7 separate regions of the Homo sapiens genome follow, and regions 1, 2, 3, 4, 5 and 7 are each linked to region 6. Evidence: promoter capture Hi-C in 16 types of primary human blood cells and fetal thymus (Javierre and others, 2016). All regions are on one chromosome and are shown on one strand. The core of a region is centred on a gene start or on the middle of the fragment in contact, and the rest is flanking DNA. Distances in the headings are between cores, read along the strand shown. Region 1 overlaps ITFG1-AS1 (ITFG1 antisense RNA 1). Region 2 has its middle 79 kb from the start of DNAJA2-DT. Region 3 overlaps NETO2 (neuropilin and tolloid like 2). Region 4 has its middle 51 kb from the start of DNAJA2-DT. Region 5 overlaps NETO2 (neuropilin and tolloid like 2). Region 6 holds the start of ABCC12 (ATP binding cassette subfamily C member 12). Region 7 overlaps NETO2 (neuropilin and tolloid like 2).

What was found. Contacts are between HindIII fragments. The CHiCAGO score rates a contact against its expected background, and 5 or more counts as called.
Region 1: a fragment that was not itself captured here is called in contact with the fragment with the promoter of ABCC12 in region 6 in 17 of 17 cell types (naive B cells, total B cells, naive CD8 T cells and 14 more); the score reaches 22.5 in naive B cells.
Region 2: a fragment that was not itself captured here is called in contact with the fragment with the promoter of ABCC12 in region 6 in 15 of 17 cell types (total CD8 T cells, total B cells, naive CD4 T cells and 12 more); the score reaches 11.7 in total CD8 T cells.
Region 3: a contact is called between a fragment that was not itself captured here and the fragment with the promoter of ABCC12 in region 6, in 10 of 17 cell types (megakaryocytes, total CD8 T cells, non-activated CD4 T cells and 7 more). The highest score is 10.6, in megakaryocytes.
Region 4: a contact is called between a fragment that was not itself captured here and the fragment with the promoter of ABCC12 in region 6, in 14 of 17 cell types (total B cells, naive CD8 T cells, non-activated CD4 T cells and 11 more). The highest score is 12.5, in total B cells.
Region 5: a fragment that was not itself captured here is called in contact with the fragment with the promoter of ABCC12 in region 6 in 16 of 17 cell types (total CD8 T cells, naive CD4 T cells, naive B cells and 13 more); the score reaches 28.0 in total CD8 T cells.
Region 7: a fragment that was not itself captured here is called in contact with the fragment with the promoter of ABCC12 in region 6 in 7 of 17 cell types (naive B cells, naive CD4 T cells, erythroblasts and 4 more); the score reaches 7.3 in naive B cells.

The regions. Positions count from the first base shown.
Region 1 is chr16:47,147,678-47,150,808 of GRCh38, forward strand. The region is part of intron 1 of ITFG1-AS1 (ITFG1 antisense RNA 1); the gene reads left to right. It also overlaps the pseudogene RPL23AP72. Among named protein-coding and RNA genes, the nearest start is that of ITFG1-AS1, 5.2 kb to the left of the region's middle. The HindIII fragment of the contact is 1,978 bases long and covers 716-2,693 here.
Region 2 is chr16:47,051,469-47,055,016 of GRCh38, forward strand. No RefSeq gene overlaps it. Among named protein-coding and RNA genes, the nearest start is that of DNAJA2-DT, 79 kb to the left of the region's middle. RefSeq lists a silencer at 1,316-1,516. The HindIII fragment of the contact is 2,699 bases long and covers 647-3,345 here.
Region 3 is chr16:47,112,953-47,116,593 of GRCh38, forward strand. The region is part of intron 6 of NETO2 (neuropilin and tolloid like 2); the gene reads right to left. Among named protein-coding and RNA genes, the nearest start is that of NETO2, 29 kb to the right of the region's middle. The HindIII fragment of the contact is 412 bases long and covers 1,045-1,456 here.
Region 4 is chr16:47,023,119-47,026,643 of GRCh38, forward strand. No RefSeq gene overlaps it. Among named protein-coding and RNA genes, the nearest start is that of DNAJA2-DT, 51 kb to the left of the region's middle. The HindIII fragment of the contact is 1,826 bases long and covers 607-2,432 here.
Region 5 is chr16:47,129,769-47,133,182 of GRCh38, forward strand. It overlaps NETO2 (neuropilin and tolloid like 2), which reads right to left. Exons shown (of 9, transcript NM_018092.5): 2 at 2,201-2,257. Among named protein-coding and RNA genes, the nearest start is that of NETO2, 12 kb to the right of the region's middle. The HindIII fragment of the contact is 1,936 bases long and covers 878-2,813 here.
Region 6 is chr16:48,154,187-48,157,457 of GRCh38, forward strand. It overlaps ABCC12 (ATP binding cassette subfamily C member 12), which reads right to left and starts at 1,807. Exons shown (of 31, transcript NM_001393797.1): 1 at 1,655-1,807. The HindIII fragment of the contact is 11,154 bases long and covers 1,647-3,271 here.
Region 7 is chr16:47,076,918-47,080,272 of GRCh38, forward strand. It overlaps NETO2 (neuropilin and tolloid like 2), which reads right to left. Exons shown (of 9, transcript NM_018092.5): 9 at 786-3,355. Among named protein-coding and RNA genes, the nearest start is that of NETO2, 65 kb to the right of the region's middle. RefSeq lists an enhancer at 1,929-2,693. The HindIII fragment of the contact is 508 bases long and covers 1,523-2,030 here.

The DNA.
Region 1 (3,131 bases), core at 455-2,954, 1.0 Mb before region 6:
GGAAGGAAGAGAGGAAAATTGTAATTTTTAAAAAGTGCATTCTGTTAGTCTGCTCAGGCTGCCATGGCAGAATTACAGTGTAGCTATAGACTGGGTGGCTTATAGTGTAGAAATGTATTTTCTCACAGTTCTGGAGGCTGGTTTCTGCTGAGGCCTCTCTCCTGGCTTGCGGACCGTTACCTTCTCACTGTGTCTTCAGCGGCCTTTTACTCTTTCTGTGTGCACCCCTGGTCTCTTCCTCTTCTAATAAGGACACCAGTCCTATTGGATTAGGGTCCAACCCTTCTGACCTCATTTAACCTTAACTATTTCCTTAAAGGCCCTGTCTCCAAAAAGTTATATAGAGGGATAGGGCTTCGACATGTGAATTTGCGGGAAACACAATTCAGCCCATAAAATGCAAGAGCCACAATCATTCCTGTGTTATTGATATTGAAGAAGAGCTGTCAGGGGGTCAAAGAATTCTTTCAGTAACACTGTCCCCTAAACTTCTAAATTTCTGGTTAGCATAATTTTAAAGAACGCTTTTAAGAAATATTGCTTCCTATTAATATAAAATATTTCATCTTTACCAGGAAAATTTCAAATTGTCAAGAAAATTTCTGGTCATTAGTTACTTTCCTTTGATTGTGAAAAACTAAGAAATGCCCTAATTTTAGTCATGTGCTGCATAATGACCTTTTGGTGGATGATGGACCACATACACAACTGTATAAGCTTATAATACCATATTTTTACTGTGCCTTTTCTATGTTTAGATATCATTAGATATACAAATACTTACCATTGTGTGTAGGAAGTAATTGCCTACACTATTCAGTACAGTCACTTGCTGTACAGGTTTGTAGCATAGGAATAATACGATAAACTGTAGAGCCTAGGTGTGTAATAGGCTACACCATCTAGGTTTGTGTAAGGACACTCTATGAAGTTTGCACAATGATGCATTTCTTAGAATGTATGTCTGTCATTAAGTGACATATGACTGTGTATTTCTTAGAATAAAGTTACTAACATATATGGTATCTTTTTTTTTTCTTTAAAACCAAAATCCCATGTTGAAAAGAGATATGTTTGCTTAAACCTATTTACTTTCTAACCTGGTGTTCTTTCATTGAAATCAACACCCCCTCCTCCAAAAAAAAAAACCTATTTACTAAAAGCTGAAACAAATGCTAGTTTATTGGTGTAGTATGAAACCATAAGTGTAAATTCTTGATGCAGTTATTTGGTAATGTTTGTTAAATAATAAAAATTGTTAAAAGGCCTTTCATATTCCTCTGCTCTGTGGTGTTACCTCCTTCCTGAATCAGACTTCCATGTGTATGAGTCTTTCTCTGCACTCTCTAATATGTTCCATTGGTCTGTCTATCTCTTCACCAATACCGCACTCTGTTAATCACCCTAACTTTTTCTTTCTTGAGACAGAGTTTCGCTCTTGTTGTCCAGGCTGGAGTGCAATGGCATGATTGGGTCACTGCAACCTCTGCCTCTTGGGTTCAAGCAATTCTCCTGCCTCAAGCCTCCCGAGTAGCTGGGATTACAGGCTTGTGCCATGACGCCCGGCTAATTTTTGTATTGTTAGTGGAGACAGGGTTTCACCATGTTGGCCAGGCTGGTCTCGAACTCAGATGATCCACCCGCCTCGGCCTCCCAAAGTGCTGGGATTACAGGCGTGAGCCACCATGCCTGGCCTAATCACCCTAACTTTATTATTTTGTTACCTGGTAGAGCAGGTCCTTATTCTTTTTCAAGATTGTCTTGGCTGTTCTTGGTCTCTTATATTTCCGTGTACATTTTAGAAACCTCTTAGCAAGCTCGGCAACACAACACCCCGTTGGGATGAGTGGAATTGGGAGGGCTTTGACATCTTTACAATTTTGAGTCTTCCTGTCCATTAACATGGTTACAGATGTGCATTTATTGAAAATTTCCTTAGCGTTTCTCAGAGAAGTTTTATAATTTACCAGACAGAGATGTATGCTACATCTTGTGTTATACTAATTCCCAGGTACTTGACTTTTTCGATGCTGTTATAAATGTTACCTGTTTTTAAATCCCATTTTCTAATTGTTCATGCTGGCGTATAAAAATGCAATTGATTTTAGAAAGTGCCAAACTGTTCTCTAGAGTGGCTTTCCTATTTTGCATCCCCACCAGCAATATATGAAAATTCTAGTTTTTCCTCATCCACATTAGCACTTTGAATTGTCAGTATTCTTTGTTTTATCCATGAAAGCACTTTTTATTCATGATAGATGTGTATTGGTATCTCTTCATAGTTTTAGTATTCATTTCCCTAATGGCATATCCGGTTGAACATCTTTTCATATGCTTGTTTGCTACCTATATATCCTCTTCAGTGAAGTATCCTCAAATTATTGCCCACTCAAATTGTTTTTTATTTTTACTGGTGAAAAGATGTCCATTTAGAATTAGCCAGCTGGACTCAGTTTAGATGATTCCAATTTTGTTGGCAACATCCAAAGCATCATAAGCAGGAGCCAGTCAAACACACGCCTTCTCTCCATTGGGCCTGATTGATCAGGCTACATCAGTGTTGCAGAGCTTCCCCACATCCTGTTTGCTCTGGTGCTTGTTGGCTTTGCCATCCACGGTGACCTCAAGTGTGTTGTTATCTTCTGTCTTCTTCATGGCACACTCAATGCTCAGGGAATCGGGCAGAGTGATGAAGCTTGTTTCTCCTGGGGGCACTCTTCTGAGGATATCTGGGTTGTCTCTAGAGCTGTAGTGTTTTGGGGTGCTGGAAGGTGGGTGAAGTGCAGATACTCCTTTTTGTGTGTGGCTGTGGATGCTTTCCAGCACTGCCTTCTTGGCCTTCAAAGCTTTTGCTTTGGTTTCAGCTTTGGGAGAGGCAGGAGCTTCCTTAGGTGTCATCTTGTCTGAGTTTTTGTATTGTTGAGTTTTGAGAGTTCTTTATAGATTCAGGATACAAGTCTGTTGTTGGATATGTGATTTGAAAATATTTTCTTGGCCGGGCATGGTGGCTTATGCCTATAATCCCAGCACTTTAGGAGGCTGAAGCGGGTGGATCACTTGAGGTCAGCAGTTCGAGACCAACCTGACCAACATGGTGAAACCCCATCTTTACTAAAAACACAAAAATTAGC
Region 2 (3,548 bases), core at 746-3,245, 1.1 Mb before region 6:
GTCATCGAGGCACATGCTGAGAACTGCCATGGGTAGGAGTGGCCCGCACTGTGTGCCTCTCCTCGACATGTGACCAGCTGATGCCCAGAGCTTGGTAGAGACTTCACACTGTTTCTAAAAAAAAAAACAAATCATCTTCTACAAAACGTCTATCTCCTGGTGTCACGAAGCCACGGACGACACCAGAAAAGGGTGGCCTGTGGAATGTGGCCTTCAGTTGGACACTGCCCTCGGAAATTTGTCCCCGACTCTATCCTTTTTTTTTTTTTTGAGATGGAGTCTCACTCTGTTGTCCGGGCTGGAGTGCAGTGGCGTGATCTCGGCTCACTGCAACCTCTGCCTCCTGGGTTCACGCCATTCTCCTGCCTCAGCCTCCTGAGTAGCTGGGACTACACGCACCTGCCACCACACCGGGCTAATTTTTTGTATTTTTAGTAGAGACGGGGTTTCACCGCAGTAGCCAGGATGGTCTCGATCTCCTGACCTCGTGATCTGCCTGCCTCGGCCTCCCAAAGTGCTGGGATTATATGTGTGAGCCACCACTCCCCACCTTCTATCCCATTCTAAGTGGTAAGTACTACAGCTGGAAAGGGGTAAGGCCAGGACCCTCCCCAGTGAGGACAGGGACTCTTTCCCCACTGTATGAAGCTTACTGCATCTGTCCCTGCTGCTGGACTCCAGCTTAAATGGTTAGCAAGAGGCCGGGCATGGTGGCTTACACCTGTAATCCCAACATTTTGGGAGGCTGAGGTGGGAGAATCGCTTGAACCCAGGAGTCCAAGACCAGTCTGGGCAATGTAGCAAGAACCCATCTCCACAAAAAAATAAAAATGTTGGCCAGGCACGGTGGCTCACGCCTGTAACCTCAATACTTTGGGAGGCCTAGGCCGGCAGATCATGAGGTCAGGAGATCGAGACCATCCTGGCTAATGTGGTGAAACCCCCGTCTCTATTAAAAATACAAAAAATTAGCCGGGTGTGGTGGTGGGTGCCTTTAGTTCCAGCTACTTGGGAGGCTGAGGCAGTAGAATGGCATGAACCTGGGAGGTGGAGCTTGCAGTGAGCGGAGATCGCGCCACTGCACTCCAGCCTGGTCAACAGAGTGAGACTCCGTCTCAAAAAAAAAAAAAAATGTTAGCCAGTTGTGGGACAGCACATGCCTGTCATCCCAGCTACTCTGGAGGGTGAGGTGGGAAGATCGCTTGAGCCCAGGAGTTGGAGGCTATAGTGAGCTGTGATTGTGCCATTGCACTCTGGGCAACATAGCAAGACACTGTCTCTAGAAAAAACAAAACAAAACAAAACAAAACAAAACAAAACAAAACAAAAAAAACAGCCAGCAAGAACTTTGTGAGCAGCCCCAGGTCCTGGCCTTGAGCCAGTCCTAGCAGGGAGAGAGGAAAAGGCTGAAGAGATGGCACACATGGTGGAAAAAGCTCAGCTTTAGGGGCCAGACAGGAGGCTTCAACTTGCAGTAACACTTCTGTTTGCCTGTGTGTCTGTCTGTCCACTTATCCATCCAATACCCAGCACCCGCTTTGTGTAGAAGTTTCTGGTGGAAAGTACTCGCAGACACTGAGGGGAGAGGCTGAATCCAGATAGCAGTTTTTCCCCTGGTGGGTTCACCACAGTCCCTGGTCCAACCCTCAGCCCCAGGCTCACAGTCTCTACCTGGTCAGCATCTCAGACTCAGGAAGGCCAATGCACACCTCCAGAACCCTCAGAGACAGAGGCAGAATATCTACTCACCGAGAGATCACCCGTGAAAATGAATACTGCCGGGTAGACCAGAGATCTGTATGGCCTGACCAGCCCTCTTTCCTTGCTGGCCAATGACATGGCAGGCCTGGGTTCATGGTGGGCACACGTGACGGAGGTCGGTTAGGGATTCCAGTGACTTGTGCCCTGGGAAGTGGTGGTCTTCTCCCAGTGTGGTCCTGCCTTCCTCCGGAACCCGTTAGGTCAAGCATTTCTTCTTTTAATGAACTGAGACAGGGCCACTTGCTCTGCTGGACACTGTTCTGGTCTGTCTCTGGCACTGGTTGCCCTCTCCTCTGCTTGCAGAGCTGGCCACCCCCTTCTCACAGACACATGCTGCCTTTATTTTTATTTATTTATTTTTTTGAGACAGAGTCTCGCTGCATTGCCCAGGCTGGAGTGCAGTGGCCACGATCTTGGCTCACTGCAACCTCCACCTCCTGGGTTCAAGCAATTTTCCTGCTTCAGCCTCCCGAGTAGCTTGGATCCCACCACGCACCACTAACTTTTTGGTATTTTTAGCAGTGACAGGGTTTCACCATGTTGGCCAGGCTGGTCTCAAACTCTTGACCTCAGGTGATCCACCTGCCTTGGCTTCCCAAAGTACTGGGATTACAGGCACGAGCCACCATACCTGGCTGGAACACATGCCGTCTTTAGACACGTTTTTGGTGCTCATAATAGGTCATGGTTGGCCTTGCTGTTTCTCTAGTGTGACAGCGCATGGTTCTGCTTTGCCCTGAGCTGATTTTATAGTTTAACTCTTGGAAAGAGACCTTTCTCTCTGTTTTCTTTTTCTTTTCTTTAATTTTCTTGAGGCGGGGTTTTGCTCTGTCGCCCAGGCTAAAGTGCAATGGCATGATCATAGCCACATGGCCTTGACCTCTTGGGCTCAAGCAATCATCCCGCCTCAGCTTCCTAGGTAGCTGGGACTACAGGAATGAGCCTCCATGCCTAGCTAATTTATATATATTTTTTTGTAGGCACGGGGTTTTACCATGCTGCCCAGGCAGGTCTCAAACTTCTGGGCTCAAGCAATCCTCCTGCCTTGGCCTCCCAAAACCTTAAGATTACAGGTGTGAGCCACTATGCCCATCCCTCCCTGTTTTCTAGTCTTCGAGGGCACCTTAATTCACTTCAAAACACACTCTCTTGGCACAAGGAACATGGAGGTGAACAGTACAGGTCTCTCCTGGCCTTCCTTACCGGTTGGGAGGGAAGGAAAGCCATGCCCTCGCTCATCCGGGCTTCCTTTCTGTGCACTGCAGGCAGATCATTTGCTTGCAAGGATGCAGGCTACCAAGGAAGCCATGGCCAGGCCTGGTGGGGAGCAGACGCCAGTAATGCTGCTGGGGCCACCGCTGTGGTATTCTGGGGTGCGAGGGCTTTGGCTCTCCTTCCCTTTGGGTGTCTTTCATTCTTGGGCTGTCCCTTCTGGGGAAAGGGAGTCCTAAGATTACTGATATTGTTAAGGGATCTTTGAGGAGGATGTTGATATTCTTCCTGGAAACTTCTGTGGCTCATGGGCCTTCACCTGAGTTCTAAATGAGGTACTCAGACAAGTGAAGGATGAAGAAGACAAAGAGAAGCTTTATTTAGTGTTAAAACAGCTCGGGAGATCCGCAGTGGGTAGCTCATCTCTGTAGGCAGGTTGCCCATCCAGTTCAGCTCTCAGCAGAGAGGAGGCCCTGGAAAGGGTAGCTCCTCTCCAGGAGGCTGGTTATTCCCACGTCTCTGCAGGTCTCTGAAGCTCTGAGCAGAAAGGATAGCCTCTCTCTGTAGCTGGTCTT
Region 3 (3,641 bases), core at 1-2,500, 1.0 Mb before region 6:
AAACCTCATACCAATTATAGAAATAAATCACTATGTATCCATTCTCCTATTGGGCATTTAGCTTGCTTCTACTTTTATAATTAGCTAATACTGCTGTAAACATTGTTGTCTTCTCTTTATGCACAGGTATGACGATTTCATTTGGGTATACATCTAGAAGTATACTTGTGTAGTAGCATGTGACCATTTTCAGCTTTACCAGAGCACATCCGAAATAGCTCTCCAAAGTGGTTGTACCAATTTATATACATTTTTCTCTTTACAGTTGAATTCTAACGAGACAATTTATACTTCTAAAGCAAATTCTTTGAGTCTGCTTGCTCTACTCAATCCACTACTCAGTCCTTGCTGACACTTCAAGAACAGTTCCACAACCCACTCAACTTCTCTTGTGCTGTCACTGTGCAGTCAAAATCCATCTCCAGTCTTCATCCCTGGTAAGCAATGATCTGTTCTTTGTCCTACAGTTCACTTTTTCCAGAATTTCATATAAATGAAATCACACAGCATGTATCCTTTGAGTCTAGCTCATTTTATTTAGCATGATGCATTTGGGGTTACTGCATGTAGCTGTAGTTTATCCCTTTTTATTGTTGAATAGATGTTACTATATGGATGTACCACAGTTTATTCTTTTTTTTTTTTTTTTTTTTTTGAGATGGAGTTTTTGCTCTTGTCGCCCAGGCTGGAGTGCAGTAGTGCAATCTTGGCTCACTGCAACCTCCGCCTCAAGGATTCAAGCAATTCTCCTGCCTCAGCCTCCCAAGTAGCTGGGATTACAGGCACCTGCCACCAGGCCCGGCTAATTTTTTGTATTTTCAGTAGAGACAGGGTTTCACCATGTTGGTCAAGCTACTCTTGAACTCCTGACCTCAAGTGATCCCCCCACCTCAGCCTCCCAAAGTGCTGGGATTATAGGCGTGAACCATCGCACCTGGCCTATTCTTTTAAAAGCTAAAGAACACTTGAAACATTTCTAGTTTTTGGTTATTACAGATAAAGTTGTTATGAACATTTACTTATAGGTTTTTTTCCATAAACATAAGCTTTCATTTCTCCCGGGTACCCATCCAGAAGAGACGGCTGAGTCACACAGTTACTTTATAGGAAACCACCAACCTGTTTCCCAGAGCGGCTCTATCATTTTGCACTCCTACCAGGACTGTATCAGAGTTTCAGCTGCTCTACATAGTTCCCAGCACTTAGTGATTTTTCTAAATTACAGTTATTCTAATGGAGAATAGTGCCATCTCATTGTGGTTTTAATTTGCATTTTTGTAATGATTAAATCTTCTGTGGTGAAGTATCTGTTGAAATCTGTTTCATAATTGGGTTTTGTTCTTATTGTTGAGTTTTGAGTTCTGGATGAAAGAAATCTTTTCATAGGTGATTTTTTTTCTCCCAGTCAGTGGCTTTTTTTTTTTTTTCTCACTCAACAGTGTCTTTCACAGAGAAAAGCTTTTTCATTAGTCCAATTTATAAATTTCTTTTTTTTTTTTTTTTTTTTTTTTTTTTTGAGATGGAGTCTCGCTCTGTTGCCCAGGCTGGAGTGCAGTGGCATGATCTCGGCTCACTGCAAGCTCCGCCTCCCGGGTTCATGCCAGTCTCCTGCCTCAGCCTCCTGAGTAGCTGGGACTACAGGCCCCCGCCACCATGCCCAACTAATTTTTTGTATTTTTAGTAGAGACGGGGTTTTACCGTGTTAGCCAGGATGGCCTCGATTTCCCGACCTCGAGATCCGCCCGCCTCAGCCTCCCAAAGTGCTGGGATTACAGATGTGAGCCACCGCGCCCAGCCTGAATTTTTCTTTTATGGATACTCTTTCGGTGTTGCATCTAAGAACTCTTTGTCTAACCCAGTAAGATTCTTTTCATATATTCTCCTCTAAATGTTTTATAATTTTACATCTATGTCCATGATTTATTTTGAGTTAATTTTTAAATACAGTGTTGGATGTAGGTGAGGCAACACCTACACTCAACAGGTGAGGGTTCATTTTTTTTTTCTTTGAATATGGAGGTTCAATTGTTCCAGCACCATCTGTTAGACTATCCTTTCTCCACTCAATTTCCTTTGAATGTCAAAAAAATTAACAAATCATATTTGCAGAAATCTAATCTCTGGACTATCTTGTTCCATTGATCTGTGTGTCTGTCCTTTGTCAGTACCACAGTCTTGGTTACTGAAGCTTCACATTAAGTCTTGAAATCAGGTCATGAGTCTTCCATGTTTGTTCTTTTTCAGAATAATTTTGGCTTCTGTAATCCCTTGCTTTTCCATTACATTCTAGAATCAGTTTGTCAATCTTTACAAAAAATATAGCTGTGATTTTGATTGAAATTGTATTCATCTGTGTAGATCATTTTCATAAGAACTGACATTTTAGCACTACTGGGCCTATCAATACATTGACACAGTATATTTACTTAGGTCATCTCTGAATATTTTCATTATGGTCTTTTAAGTTTTCAGTTAACAGATACTACACAGTTTTTTTTGGTGGAGTAATATTTTAAATGGTACTGTTTTCTTAATTTTGAACTACAGTTTTCATTGCTAGTATATAAAAATTCAACTGATTTTTTTTTTTCTTGAGACAGGGTCTCAGTTTGTTGTCCAGGCTGGAGTGCAGTGGTGCGCTCTTGGCTCACTGCAGCCTCCGCCTCCTTGGCTTAAGTGATCCTCCTGCCTCAGCCTCCCGGGTAGCTGGGACTACAGCTGCAGCCACCATGCCCGGCTAATTTTTATATATATATATATACATATATATATATATATACATGTATATATATATATTTTGTAGGGGCTGGGTTTCGTCAGGTTGCCCAGGCTGGTCTTGAACTCCTGAGTTCAAGCAATCCACCTGCCTTGGTCTCCCAAAATGTTGGGATTACAGGCGGGAGCCACAGTGCCTGACCTGCAATTGATTTTTGTATACTGGTCTTCCATCCTGCAACCTTGTTAACCTGATATATTTGTTCCAGGAGCTTTTCAGATGCTATGGAAATTTTTATATAGACAACGATATCTTCAAAAAGATTGATTTCTTCTTTTTCCAATCTGTATGCTTTTTTGTACTGGCTACAACTTCTAGTATAACATTGAATAGGACTTAGCTTGCTACAGATTTTGAAGGGGAAAGAATTCAGGTTTTCACCACTAAGTATGGTGTCAGCTGTAGGGTTTTCTGTTTTTTTTTTTTTTTTCTAAGAGACAGGCTCTTACTATGATGTCCAGGCTGGCCTTGAACTCCTGAGCTCAAGTGATTCTCAATCCTCTTGTATCAGCCTCCTTAACAGCTGGAACTATGGATGCATGCCATTGTGCCTGGTTTAGCTGGTAGGTTTTTGTAGATACCCTTCTTCAGGTTATGGAAGTCTCATCTGTTCCTATGTTTCTGAGATTTTTATCATGAATGGGTGATGAATTTTAACAAATGGAGACAATCATAGTTTTCTTTAGTCTTTATGGTGAATTACATTGATTTTTCAAATGTTGAACCAGACTTGCATTCCTGAGATAAACCACGCTTTACTATTATGTATTTTTTTATATTGCTGAATTAGATTTGCTAATATTTTATTGAAATTTTTGCATCTATTTTCTTGACGAATACTGATCAATAGTTTCCTTATAATGTC
Region 4 (3,525 bases), core at 270-2,769, 1.1 Mb before region 6:
AATGAGTTACCAGATGTGACTTTTGTGTATGATCAATTTGCCAATAATTAAACTATAACGTTAAAATAATTTCTTTTATTTATTTATTTTTTTGAGACAGAGTCTCACTCTGTCGCCCAGGCTAGAGTGTGGTGGCTCGATCTTGGCCCACTGCAACCTCCGCCTCCCAGATTCAAGGGATTCTCCTGCCTCAGCCTCCCAAGTAGCTGAGATTACAGGCGCACGCCACCATGCCCGGCCAATTTTTGTATTTTTAGTAGAGACGAGGTTTCACCATGTTGGCCAGGCTGGTCTCAAACTCCTGACCTCAGGTGATCCGCCAGCCTTGGCCTCCCAAAGTGCTGGGATTACAGGCGTGAACCGCCACACCTGGCCTAAAATGATTTCTATGAAAATAGCAAACCTTTATATAGCACCTATTATGTGCCCAGAATGTATATTTATTCACTCATATAATCTTTGCAATCTTTCAAGTAGGTACTGTTATTATTCCAGTTTTACAGCTGAGGAAACTGAGATACAGAGAGGTTAATGTGCCTGCTATAGTTATGCAGCAAGTGGCAGAGCAGCCTGATGTCAGAGTCCACTCACTCCGCCTCCTTGGCAAGCTTCGTCTTTCTTTGAGGATTCAGGAGACACCTCAGAGTCATGATTCTGCGTATCAATTCTAAGTATTCTGCAGATGCATGACCAAGGTTATGGTTTATTGAACATCAAGTAACCAAGAGTTTTACTTTCTTTTTTGTTATATGGAGTTGTCATATTTTCCACAACGGGCACCTATTAATTTTATATTAAGAAAAAATGTAAACATTATACACACATTTAGAATAACAGGAGCTGTCTACTCCTCCCCACCTAGAGGTTCTCCCTCTATTTCCAATACTGGAAGATCAGGGTTTAATTTTATGAAGGTAGGGCAGGGCATGGGAGGTTCACTCGTGTAACTCCAGCACTTTGGGAGGTTGAGACAGGAGGATTGCATGAGCCCAGCAGTTCAGGACCAGCCCGAACAACATAGGGAGATCCTATCTCTACAAAAAAATGTGAAAAATTAGCTGGGTATGGTAGCAGGCGCCTGTGGTCCCAGCTACTTGGGATGCTGAGGCAGGAGGATTGTTGGAGCCAGGAGGTCAAGGCTGCACTGAGCTGTGCTCGTACCACTGCACTTCTGGGCAACAGAGTGAGACCCTGTCTCAAAAAAAAAAAATTGTGCTAAGGTAAAAAGTAAGTTTTTCTTATACTTGACAATATTTTCTTCTTTTGTGTGTGTGTGTGTGTGTGTGTGTGTGTGTGTGTGAAAAAGAACCTTGTATATATCTCATTTCCCTTTGGCTGTCAGGAAGCTCCATGTAACAATTACACGGTTTTTTTTTGGACAGAGTCTTGCTCTGTTGCCCAGGCTGGAGTGCAGTGGTGCAATCTCAGCTCACTGCAACCTCCACTTCCCAGGTTCAAGCAATTCTCCTGCCTCAGCCTCCTGAGTAGCTGGGATTACAGGCGTGTGCCACCACACTCAGCCAATTTTTGTATGTTTAGTAGAGATGGGGTTTCACCATGTTGGCCAGGCTGATCTCGAACTCCTGACCTCTTGATCCACCCACCTTGGCCTCCCAAAGTGCTGAGATTACAGGTGTGAGCCACTGTGCCCAGCCAATTACACAGGTTTTTATGGCCTACTCTAAATTTTTTTTGGTCTTAATTTATACTACTTAAAAAAAATAATGACTCTATGGGTTTCAGAAGATGATACAATGAACTAATGTGGATCCCCCTCTTCCTGCCAATAATAAATTTAAAAATATATTTTTTAGGCCAGGCACGGTGGCTCACGCCTGTAATCCCAGCACTTTGGGTGGCTGAGGTAGGCGGATCACTTGAGGTCAGAAATTAAGACTAGCCTGGCTAATATGGTGAAACCCTGTCTCTACTGAAAATACAAAAATTAGCCAGGTGTGGTGGCATGCACCTGTAATCCCAGCTACTTGGGAGGCTGAGGCAGAGGTTGCAGTGAGCCGAGATTAGGCTACTTGGGAGACAAAGCAATCTAGCCTGGGAGACAAAGCAAGACCCTGTCTTAAAAAAATTATATATATTTAAAAGTTCAAATCCATGGCCAAGCCATAAAGAAGAGAATTTCCCAGGTACCAGCCATGAAGGGCAGCTTGCACCAGAGTGGTACCCATGCGAGCTGGTGCCATGATGGCTTAGGGAGATAGTGGCCTAGATATCGGCCCAGATGGCTTATTAGCCATGGTGGGATAGGAGACCCAGCCTCCAGCGTGCAAATGGTGGGGAGCTGTAACTGGCCTCTGCTAAAATCTGAGGCCTGGAATGGCGGGACCACTGTGTCCAGGGGACTGAAAAACATTGCCTTCCTACCCAAGCATAGGAGTTAATTTTGCCATGGCTCTGGGTGAGAAAAGAAAAAAAGCTTCCTTGAGACTTTGAACCCCCAAACCTGTACCACACAAGGATGTGGAATCCAAATGGACTCTTCCTGCTTGCTGTGGCCATAAGGAGCCAATAAATAAACATGAAAACGAATCATAGTGTGGTGAAATACTGGGGTCCTGAGCAGAAGCAAACCTAGAGCTGCTCTATGGGGCCGTTTCCACATGCCAGAGCTCACGGGACACATGCTTGTGCACACACATGCACACACACGCGCGCATGCACAGGCACGCATGCACCCGCACACGCGCACACGTGCATACACACACGCGCACACACACGCACACATGCACACACACACGTGCTCACGAACACACACGTGCTCGCGAACACACACGCACACACATACACACACACATGCATATACACACTCACACATGAGAAAGATGCACTGGTATGAGAAATGGACCCACCATCAGAGGGGATCAGCAGACACAGCATCAAAAGGATGAGTGCCCTTGAGAATTTGAGATAATTGAACACTGTGAAGAATGACCGTATGGAAAAAGAATAGTCAGGTTTGCTGCAACACAGGAATCTCCGATTGAAGAAGCACTGTGAATGCTGAGTAGAAGGCATAAAACTTGGTGCACCCTTGAGGTATTTGTTTTGTCAATTCAGATTTTAATAAATTGAGTGTTCAAGTGGGGCCCACAGTACACAAATGGTGCTATCTGGAAGGCTTTGAGAACACCTTCGACCAGCCTTGACAAAACAGGTCACTGCTCTCCACAGGCCTGGATGAGGACTCAGGCTGCTGAAACTCCTTCTATCTTGGAGCATTCCCCACAGTCCCTGTTCCCAAGGGCTTGGTGGTCCACTGCATGTGTTCTCCTCCTGGTCTACACAGGACGCTGGATTGAAAGGTGGTGGGTTCACATGGGAGGAAGGAGTAAAGGAGCTGAAAATGAGTACTTGGTGGAGTGACATATCCAAGCTCACATGACAGCTTCCTGCAAGGAGCTGTGGCTGACAATAGGTGGATCATCCTAATGAGGCGGGAGAGAGGCACTCCCAGTCACCACTGCCACCAACAGGCTTCACGGACTGGTCCACCGGGTTAACGAAAGC
Region 5 (3,414 bases), core at 596-3,095, 1.0 Mb before region 6:
TTTTAGTTGAAGACTGTAGACTAAATACATGCACGTAGCTGAGCTCCTTCCTCAAACTCCACTTAAACAGCAATAAAAGGATTTTTAAAAGGGTATAAACTCTTAAACAGAGAGGGGTAGATATAGCAGTAACAACTGGCAGTACCAGGAAGTGGGGTTGGGGGTGGTGAGTGAAATTGGGCTTTTTAAAAACACGAGGCTAGTTAAAAGTCTGTTTAGAATGAGTTGGATTTTCAGTACCCTTTCCTCCTCCACAAATCTAGCAGCTCTACAACCACATCAGAACACTAAAGGTGATTTCTTTGGAGAAGGTAAAACAACAGGGTTACTGGACTAGGGGACACCAGGAACAGTTGAGAACGAAAACAGGGAGACGAGTGAATGTTAGCACATGTCCCAGCCTTCGTTTCCTGCTTAACTCCCACAAAGGCCTCCTGGTCAGATATTGAGCCTTTAAGCAGGAAAAGAAAAGATTCTTCTCTGGGAGTCGAAACAGCCCCTAGGAAAGGCTTGATGCAGATGCAGGAGTTCCCCAGTGTCAGATCTGTCAACAGTGAGAGCCAGTAACTGATCCTTGCCCACACCTGCAGACAGTTAACGATCAGTTTTTAGTGCCCCTCTTAAAATATGAGCCCTCAAGGATCACCAGACATTGGAGGAAAATCTCTAATATAAATAAATAAATAAATAATAATAATAATAAAACTGGAGAAAAGCAACTCTGAGGAGATAAAGACTATGCAAGAAAAATATTTAAAAACCACCACCACCACAAAACAATCATTTAATATCCTGAGAAAGAAAAGCAAGTAAATCTATAAGACAAAAACAAAGATACTGTACAAACAATATTATATTCAGAAAACAGAACCAAAAAAGCTTCCAAAAACAGAAGAGATGAAAAAATCAGCAGAACATTTAGAGCAGAGTTCAGCAAACTATGACCCTGGGCCAAACATGACCTGGAGCCTGCTGTAAATAAAGTTTTACTGGAATATACCCATCCCCATCATTTGTGTGCTTTTGTTCCAGGACAGAAGAGTTGAGGAATTTGAAGAGTTGCTTCAGAGACTGTAGGACCTACAGCGCCTTAAACACTTACGATCTGACCCTTTACAGAAAAAGTGTTCTAACTCCTGGTTTAGAGGTAAAGTTGAGGAAGTCTCAGCGAATGTGGAGCAAAAAGATGGAAAACAGAAGAGCCAGAAACAAAAACCAAGAGGGCCATAACCAAGTAAAATAATAGAATTCCTGAAAAGGCAAAAGAGAGAAAATGGAGGAAAGGGAATTTTAAAAATTAAAACAGAAAAAAAAAAAAAAGATTTCCTAAAGATAAAATTCAGCTGAATGAGTGACTTAATGTAAATCCTGAATACTGAGTTAACCAGAATTATGACAGAACTGTGTTGAGAAGGGTGCTACAAATGCAAGGTACGAGAACACTCAAATATGGATGGGGTGGACGGTAGGTGCGTGAAAGAGCTAAATTCTCATCTTCCACGGTGAAAAATCATTATCTAATTTATAAAACTGAAATAACCAAGAAGTAGCAATACAGCATGTTATTTAGAGAAAGGAAGGGAAATACCAAAAGAATCAGCTAAGAGTGATTATTTCCATGGAGCAGGAAGTTAAGTAGGGCAAGATGGGGAACTCATTTTTCCTAATTAACTTTTTAGGAATGCTTTGATTTTTATCATGTGTATGTATTACTTAGATGAAAATAAAAAACAAACAACATTACACTGGAAATGTACTAAATTCAGACATAAAAATCTGGCTAAAAAAAATCACACTAGCTAATCATCAAACATAAATCAAGACAAAAGAACAGAACCAAAGGACTTTGAATAAGATATTAATTGAAGTGTTTCATTTGTTTAAATTAGAAAAAGGGACTTTTATTTTTGCTTAGTGATAAAATATAAATCTCCTTTAATTTTTGGACATAATCCACAGTATGCTAGGAGCTACTAGTGATGTCAATTTTAAAAATTTATCAGGGCAAGACTTTATGCTGACAATTTAGTTAACTGCAGCTAAACTCAGTTAAATTGAGGCTGATGGGTTGACAGAAAGCCTTAGGTCACTGGAACACCCCAAAGGGATTATGAAAATAGTACCCAAAAGTTGCAATCCTTTCAAATAAGCCAGTCCATTGTCTTAAACATGCAGTAAGTCACCAATGTAAGTACTTTACCTTGGGTTTTTTGGGCCACGGCAATCCCTTCCACTACCAGTACTGTTATTAACAACACTAGAGAAATAACAGAGAAGAAAAGTTATGAAATTGAATCTATACTACATTTTACTAAGTCAATAAATAAAATTGGATGACAAAAAAAGATTAACTAAAATCACTATTTATTACTCAAAATTCACTCTCAAGATCTTTAAGCATTAAATGTTATGTTCTGATTTGCTACCTAACCCTTAAGATAACCCAAGAAAAGACAAGTGGTTTTGTACTCATTTATAAGCATTTAATAATACATGGCATTGAAAGCATTTTTCAACTTAATAGTTTTGTTTAAAAAAAAAAAAACACTTGTTTTTTGCAACAGACCTTGCTCATCCTAACTATTCCTCTATTTACTGTAGTCCATCTCAAAGTTTACATGCAGTATAGCTGGCTCTGCAGTGTGCTATGGCAGTGAAAGTTCAATTAGATTATATCTGTTTTCTGAGAACATTCTTAATCAAGACAGAAGTAAGGGGGCAGCAGTCTCCTAGAAATCAATTCAAACTGTCTTATCATTGTGCAGTACTATGCTGTGCTCTGTGCTACAAAGGCTAGCCATATTTAACACTGAAGCTTTTTTCCATGTTGAACATTTCTGAGACCCAATCAACAACATATTGAATTGTTTTGTGTATGTGGTTTGAAGATTTAAAGAAACATTTTCATGGATGCTGCACTCTCCCTTTCAAAGGAAACCACACTGCCAGCCTGTCCCGAACTACTGCGTGAACTGGAGTTATTCATTCAGTGAATAGGCACTTACAGAGTATCCACTGAAGAGCGGGCACCAAGGATGCACAGGTGTGGAGAGAGAAATCGAGCAAAATGGTTAAGAGTATGGACTTAAGGAGTTTCATGAATCTAGGCTAGGGTTCAAGTTTTGCCTTCTACCAGCTGTGAGGCCTTTTCAGCTCAGTTTACTTATTTGTAAAATGGAGATGACGTATAAATAGGTCAACCTCATTGGTGGTTGTGAAGATTAAATGAGATAATGTATATAGTATTTTTATGTGCCAGACATTCTGCTAAATAAATGATGGATATTAGGACAAACCAGCATCCACAAGGAATCAATGTATTGTTGAATCTACAATACAAGGTGAAACGGAGTTTAACAGGAGATATGCAGAAGGCATAATGGAAGCAGAAGGTCCATTCTGCTGGGGGTTAAG
Region 6 (3,271 bases), core at 557-3,056:
CTAGCAGGCAGGGGGTTCCTAACCTAACCTCAACAGACTGGACAGGCAGAAGCAGGAAGGCCTCTGTTTAGAGCACAGGACACAAAGACCATGTACAACTTGCAGTTCCATTTTATATGGCCTGCATAGTTTAAACATTTTTTTCCAATTTGTGGAAAACATTTAAAAATGAGGAGATACCACATTAAAAAAAAAATAAGACTGGCTTCTGGCTTTCGTCAAATATCAAGAGCTCTGTATGTTCATGTGGTGACAATCCACTTACGTTGAGCACGGCAGCCCCTCCTGGGCAGGGTATACATGCTTTAGTTTGCCACAATCCCCACCACTCCTTACTGTCTCTGTGACTCTGAGATTTGGGGTCATGTAACATTTATTATTGCATTGGCACTGCTGTCTTCCTTATAGTGTTTCCTGAGGCCTTTTTCTCTATCCTTGTCTCTGCCCCAAGAGAGAACAAAAGATGTCTAGAAGTCATCTCAAGAAGAACCATTTTCCACACCTGCCCACTTTGCTCTGTTATATTTCATTTCTGCCCCTGTCTAGCCCAGAAAATTAACAACTTTATGTTTGAGAACTGGACTCTGGGTCTTCCTTGGTGCTCATGATGGGAGTTCCTCCATCAACCAAAAGCAGGCACACCTTTAGTCATAAAATTTTTCCCAGGTATGAGACTACAGCCCTACTTCTTTCTTAATAAATCCATTGTTAATTTAAAGCCACCAAAGTTATCAATATCTGATGGTCTCCCCCAACTCCCACAGCCCCTTCCTCCAGGGCCTGACTGGCCTCCAGCACAGAGGAGACACTGGGGAGCTCTCCCAGGCCCTGCCTGCACCGCACCTCTCCTGTCTGTCCCCAGGTCCCAGGCACCTGTGGCAGCCAGATCAGAAAGCCCTGTGAGTGATGAGGGACTGGGGTTGGGAGGCAGGGAGAGGCAGAGAGGTGGCAGAGGGAAGTGCATGCAGGGGACAGCACCAAGCTGGGGGTGTGGGAAGGGAAGTGGGGGTGCTTTTGCTCAAGTACCCTCATCTCCCAGAAGGCCTAAAACAGTGGCCAGTGATGGCATCTCCAAAAGAGGTCATCCATCCAGTTACAGACACATTCCGACACGATCAAAGAAGGATGCAGAGCCTGGATTCAGAGCAATTCAAATCTACCCTCCCAGGAAAATAATATATTTAAAAGTTAAAAAAAAAAAAAAAAGAAAGAAAGATGAAAACCTCATATGAGAACTGCAGTAAAGCTTTCCAGGTCTTTTTTTTTGGGGGGGAGGTATAAATCCCATAATTAAATTGTGAACACTACCCTGTATATGTGTTTGTGTTTGTGCATGTGTGGGAAAAGACTTAAAATATTCAATGTAGGCTTTTGTATTTCAGAGATTTTGAAATCGCGTCTTGGCATTTCTGCCTTTTCTTTTATGATAGCGGGGGCTCCAAAAGTGGAAGAGGGGCTGCCTTTCTTCTGGGAGCCTCGTCCCTGCTGCCTCCCACTTGGGCAGCCCCATTCAGTGGTGTCACCTCCCCCAAACCCCCCACCACACACACACACAGCCTGTCCTGAGGATGAGAAACAAAGGCCCTTGGGACTAAATGGTGGCCACTAATTGTTACAGGGAGAAGCTTTACCTGGGCTGGAAATGAAGCTTTACCTGGGCTGAGGATGAGAGGGAGGGGAGGAGGGTCAGCAGTCATGGGGCTCAGAGCCTGGCATCTGCTGCCCAGGACTCCAGGGCCTGCTTCTCCCCAAGGACCTCAGATTCAGTTTCTCTTGTCCCACCCGCCTGAAGTCCTCCTCTCCAACTGCCCCATTCAACTGCCACTCCCACCACACCTGAGAGGGAACTCTGGCGGGCCAACATTCCCTCTGCCCACATTAAAGGGCTCTCCCCTCTTCCAGGATGGCCTGTGGCCGGGTCTGGCTCTTTGGTGACAGTCAGAGCCCATGCATGAAAGCACTGTGCATGGCCAGCCCTTCCCTGGCTGTCACAGCACATCCTTGTAGAAGAGAAGGAGAAAAATCCTCTCTCCAACCGTCATTCTACAGACGAGAAGCCCAAGGAACAGAAGCCTGTCCACGACTGGCGTGGGGCTGAGACCAGCACCCAGGTCCCCTGAGTCCCACTCCAGGCTCCTTCCTGAGAGAATGCATCGAATTTTCTACGCTGTGTTCCTGCAACCGGGAATCAACTTTGGGATCAGGGGAAGGGAAGGGAGGGGAGGGGAGGGCAGGGGTAGGGGAGGGCAGGGGTAGGGGAGGGCAGGGGAGGCGAGGGGAGGGGAGATGAGCCTCATCTTCAAAACAGAAAATCTCATTCATTCATTCCCCATTCATTTAACGAAAAAGAAAAGGGTAATTTGAGCTCAATTTGTCTTGAAATGAACGGAAGGTAAGTCTGAGACCTGCACTAGCAGCTAGCCCTTGCATAGAAAAGTTCCCCTGTGTCACCCTTGGAACCCTGCACATCCCGAGCGCAAGCGTGATTCCCGGGGTCCCTTCTGCGCCTGTCCCAGAACAAGCGCCCGATTTCAGGGGAGCCCAGCCGAAGGGTTCCACAGCGCTCAGCGAGCCGGCTGGGAGGGAGCAAACTCTCTAACTGCAGAAAAAAACAAATCTTGATTCCGCTTTAAGGGTTATTTAAACATCTTAGAGGACCTTCCCAGCCTCACGCACGTGGATTTCATGAGGAACTTGGCCGCTACCTTCTCCTGTCCTGCGCAATGCCGCCCCCTGCTGGCTGCCTTCCGGCCCCGCCGCTTCCTGGAGATGCGAATTCACCGCCTTTGCCCAACCTGAGTTCCCTTCCTACCTAGAGGGAGGTGGAAATGGAGAGGGGCTGTGGGCAGCTGTGTAGGAAAATGGGTCCTCCCAGGAAGGCTCCCCGGCCTGGGGAGTGAGCTAGACCGACAGCAGTTTCCTTACACGTGTCCAAAGTGTTCCATTTAATTTCCGTCCATTCTTCCCTTCATGAATGCAAATCACTGCTAATAATATCACTCGACATTTCTGGAGCCCTTTGTGTATCGCAAAATTCTTCATCCTCTTTATCACTTGATCTTCGCAACAACCCCGGGGGTCTCATAAACACAGCAAAGACTCGCTTCCACAATCTTCCAAACGGAGTCAAGTGCTGTCAAGTTTATGGAGGAAGAATGCCGATCAGTTTTCCTCTATCTCCATGAAAGGCTGGGCGGAGATGGATTTCCACCCAGACAAACAGTATTGGGCGCTACGCAAGAAGATTGGTGGGCCTAGCCGGAAACAGAGT
Region 7 (3,355 bases), core at 527-3,026, 1.1 Mb before region 6:
GAAGGGCGCAGGGCTACACATCAGCACCAGCTGCACATTTCCTATCTGTTCCTTGTGCTCATTCTCAGAGTGGAATTTTCTTATAAGGTGTAAACACAACAGTGATAAAATAACTCAAGGGTACAGAAAGAATTCCCCTACTATTCACATAATTTTTTGGTTTGAAATTTGTGAATACTTCTCTACACCACCACTTAATAGGACCAATATTATCAATGGAAAAATAAAGCAAGATTTGGAAAGCATGGCTGAATACCTAGATTTCTGATGAAAATTCCTTTAGCAATCAACAACTACTCAAAATGTTTCAACATGCTTGTAATCCCAGCTCTCTGGGAGGCCAAGGCAGGATTGCTTGAGCCCAGGAGTTCGACACCAGCCTGGGTAACACAGTGAGACTTCATTTCTTAAAAAAAAAAAAAAAAAAATTCAGCTGGGCCAGGAGCAGTGGCTCACTCCTGTAATCCCAACATTTTGGGAGGCCTAGGCGGGCAGACTGCTTGAGCTCAGGAGTTCCAGACCAGCCTGGCAACATGGCCAAACCCTGTCTCTACAAAAATAATTTTAAAAAATTAGCCAGGTGTGGTGGTGCGTGCCTGTAGTCTCAGCTACTAGGCAGGCTAAAGCGGGAAGATCTCCTGAGCCCAAGAGGTCGAGGCTGCAGTGAGCTGAGATTGTGCCACTGCACTCCAACCTGGGTTACAAAGCAAGACTGCCTCAAAAGAAAAAAAGTTTCAATAAAATGTGTACTGGCTCAGAGGCCTAAATGGCATCAGATATTGTGGAGTATGACAAAGGTTGGAGGGTAAGAGAACTTTTAAATAACACTTGTTTCTTGATCCTAAATAACACAAAGTAAAATTGCTCTGTAACAATTTACAGAGACAGACCAGTGGTAAACCTTCTTTCTTCTTCCTCTGTGCCCTGATCTGTGCCTGATGCTTGTGAAACTCAGAGGAGTTTCTGCCTTCTTTTGCTCCCCACTCCGTGTTCACCTGTCTTGAGGTATACTCATCCATGTTTCTAAGCTGTGTTATGGCTGGTGCACTGTGCACCCCGAAAGAACAGCTTGGCTCTCCAGCCCACTCTGTGACAGTCCTCACTGCCTCTTCAGTGACCGGATGCAGCAGACTGCAACCTGCAGGCAACCTGGGACAAAACGCATTTTTTTCTTTAGTTCATCTTCACTTGAAGATTAATGAATTTGAAAACATAAAATGGTTCTAAGTGTAATAAAATAAAGTTGCCCTTATCATAACTAGGATTATTGTATTTTGGAAGCTAGTGGATAGGAAATGCCAACTTTGCCCCGGAAGGAAATACAGATTCTGTTGGTATAAGTGATCTAAATTATTTGCCACTTCTAGACTTTAGAAATTGAGGCAAGCAAGGAAATCAGAACAAGTTTTTAATTCTAGTTCAAGAGTCAAAATTCTTTTCTATAAAATGCCAAATCTAGGATTAAGCATATTCTCATATGGCCTGGAAGTTCATCTCTAATAAAAATCTACTGCTTTTAAAAAGCTTACACTAGACAGTGCATACTAAACATGCACCCTAGTCATTAGCTTTTTAGGCTTTGGTAGTCATTAAACCAATTGCAAAAATACATTTTTAAAAAGTTAAAGTAAAGCAAATTCAGAGTTTTGAATTATTAGCAGAGGTATATAAAACATAAGTGATTTTGCAGAAAACTAAAATATCCAAGATAATCTTGTTATTTACAGTAACTCAAACTCCAATCATTCTCCAAAACTCAAGAGATATGGCACACAAATATTTAATTTCTAGAATACACGTCTCCTTTAGATTTAAAAAAGATCAAAAAAGCAAGAACACAGGAGCTCTTCCTGCCTAGTATCGAGCCTGTATACTGTTAACAAACATTGCTTAGTAAGAATTCACGGTGCCAAGGAATCATGGCAGCAAAACTGTAGAACACAATGTTACATACATTTAAAGAAAAGGGGAAATATAATGCATTGAAGAAATTACAGAATAAATTACATTTCAATTCAGAATGATTGACAAGCTTACATGGGCTGCTAAACAGAAGTGCTTGACTTTTAAAACGTACAGCTGGGCTGGGCGCCTTGGCTCACTCCTGTAATCCCAGCACTTTGGGAGGCCGAGGCGGGCGGATCACGAGGTCAGGAGATCGAGACCATCCTGGCTAACATGGTGAAACCCCGTCTCTACTAAAAATACAAAAAATTAGCCGGGCATGGTGGCGGGCGCCTGTAGTCCCAGCTACTCGAGAGGCTGAGACAGGAGAATGGCATGAACCCGGGAGGCGGAGCTTGCAGTGAGCCGAGATCACGCCACTGCACTCTAGCCTGGGTGACAGAGCGAGACTCTGTCTCAAAAAACAAAAAAACAGAAAAACAAAAACAGAAGGCCAGGCGCGGTGGCTCACGCCTGTAATCCCAGCACTTTGGGAGGCCGAGGCGGGTGGATCACGAGGTCAGGAGATTGAGACTATCCTGGCTAACACGGTGAAACCCCGTCTCTACTAAAAATACAAGAAATTAGCCGGGCATGGTGTCGGGCGCCTGTAGTCCCAGCTACTTGGGAGACTGAGGCAGGAGAATAGCGTGAACCCGGGAGGCGGAGCTTGCAGTGAGCCGAGATCGCGCCACTGCACTCCAGCCTGGGCGACAGAGCGAGACTCCGTCTCAAAAAAGAAAAAAACCAGAGTACTGGGGTTCTTGAGACACTGGTGCTGAGTTCACTTCTGTGGGCTTCAGTCTTCTCATTCATACACTTGGGCTAGATAGGTCTTTCTTGGATCTTTAAAACCACCAAAAACTCAATGATCCTTCTGGGTCTAATCAGTGTGATTCAAGGCATATTATTTTTAATGTCATATAATTCATGTCACTTGCAATAAAGTGACATGAACAATATATAGCAGACCCCATTTTGCAATAAGAGTATAATCTCCTTTGAGAATTATTCCTGAAATCACAACCAGGCTTCTCCCGTCCCCTCTCATCAGTGAACACACTCCTCAAACAGGGAAGCATTCTTCTCATCAGACATTGGCAGAACCATACAAATGTTCAGAGGCAGACTTTCAGGAGGTTCTTTTAAAGTCTAACAATTCTATGAAACATGACAAAGACACTGACATAAGCGCTGTCGGGTTAAAGGAGTCTTTGAAATCTCTTTTGTGATGTGAAATGTGAACATTCTTTGCCTTTTGTTAAACGTTTAGATTGACACTCTCCCCACACACAAAAGGAATATCACATCTTATTCCTACATGCTTTAGATGTTGGGATTAGTAGGTTTCCTGCAATAGATCTGTGGGCATTTGGGGGATGATGCGGTGAATTGCAGATGGAAGATAATG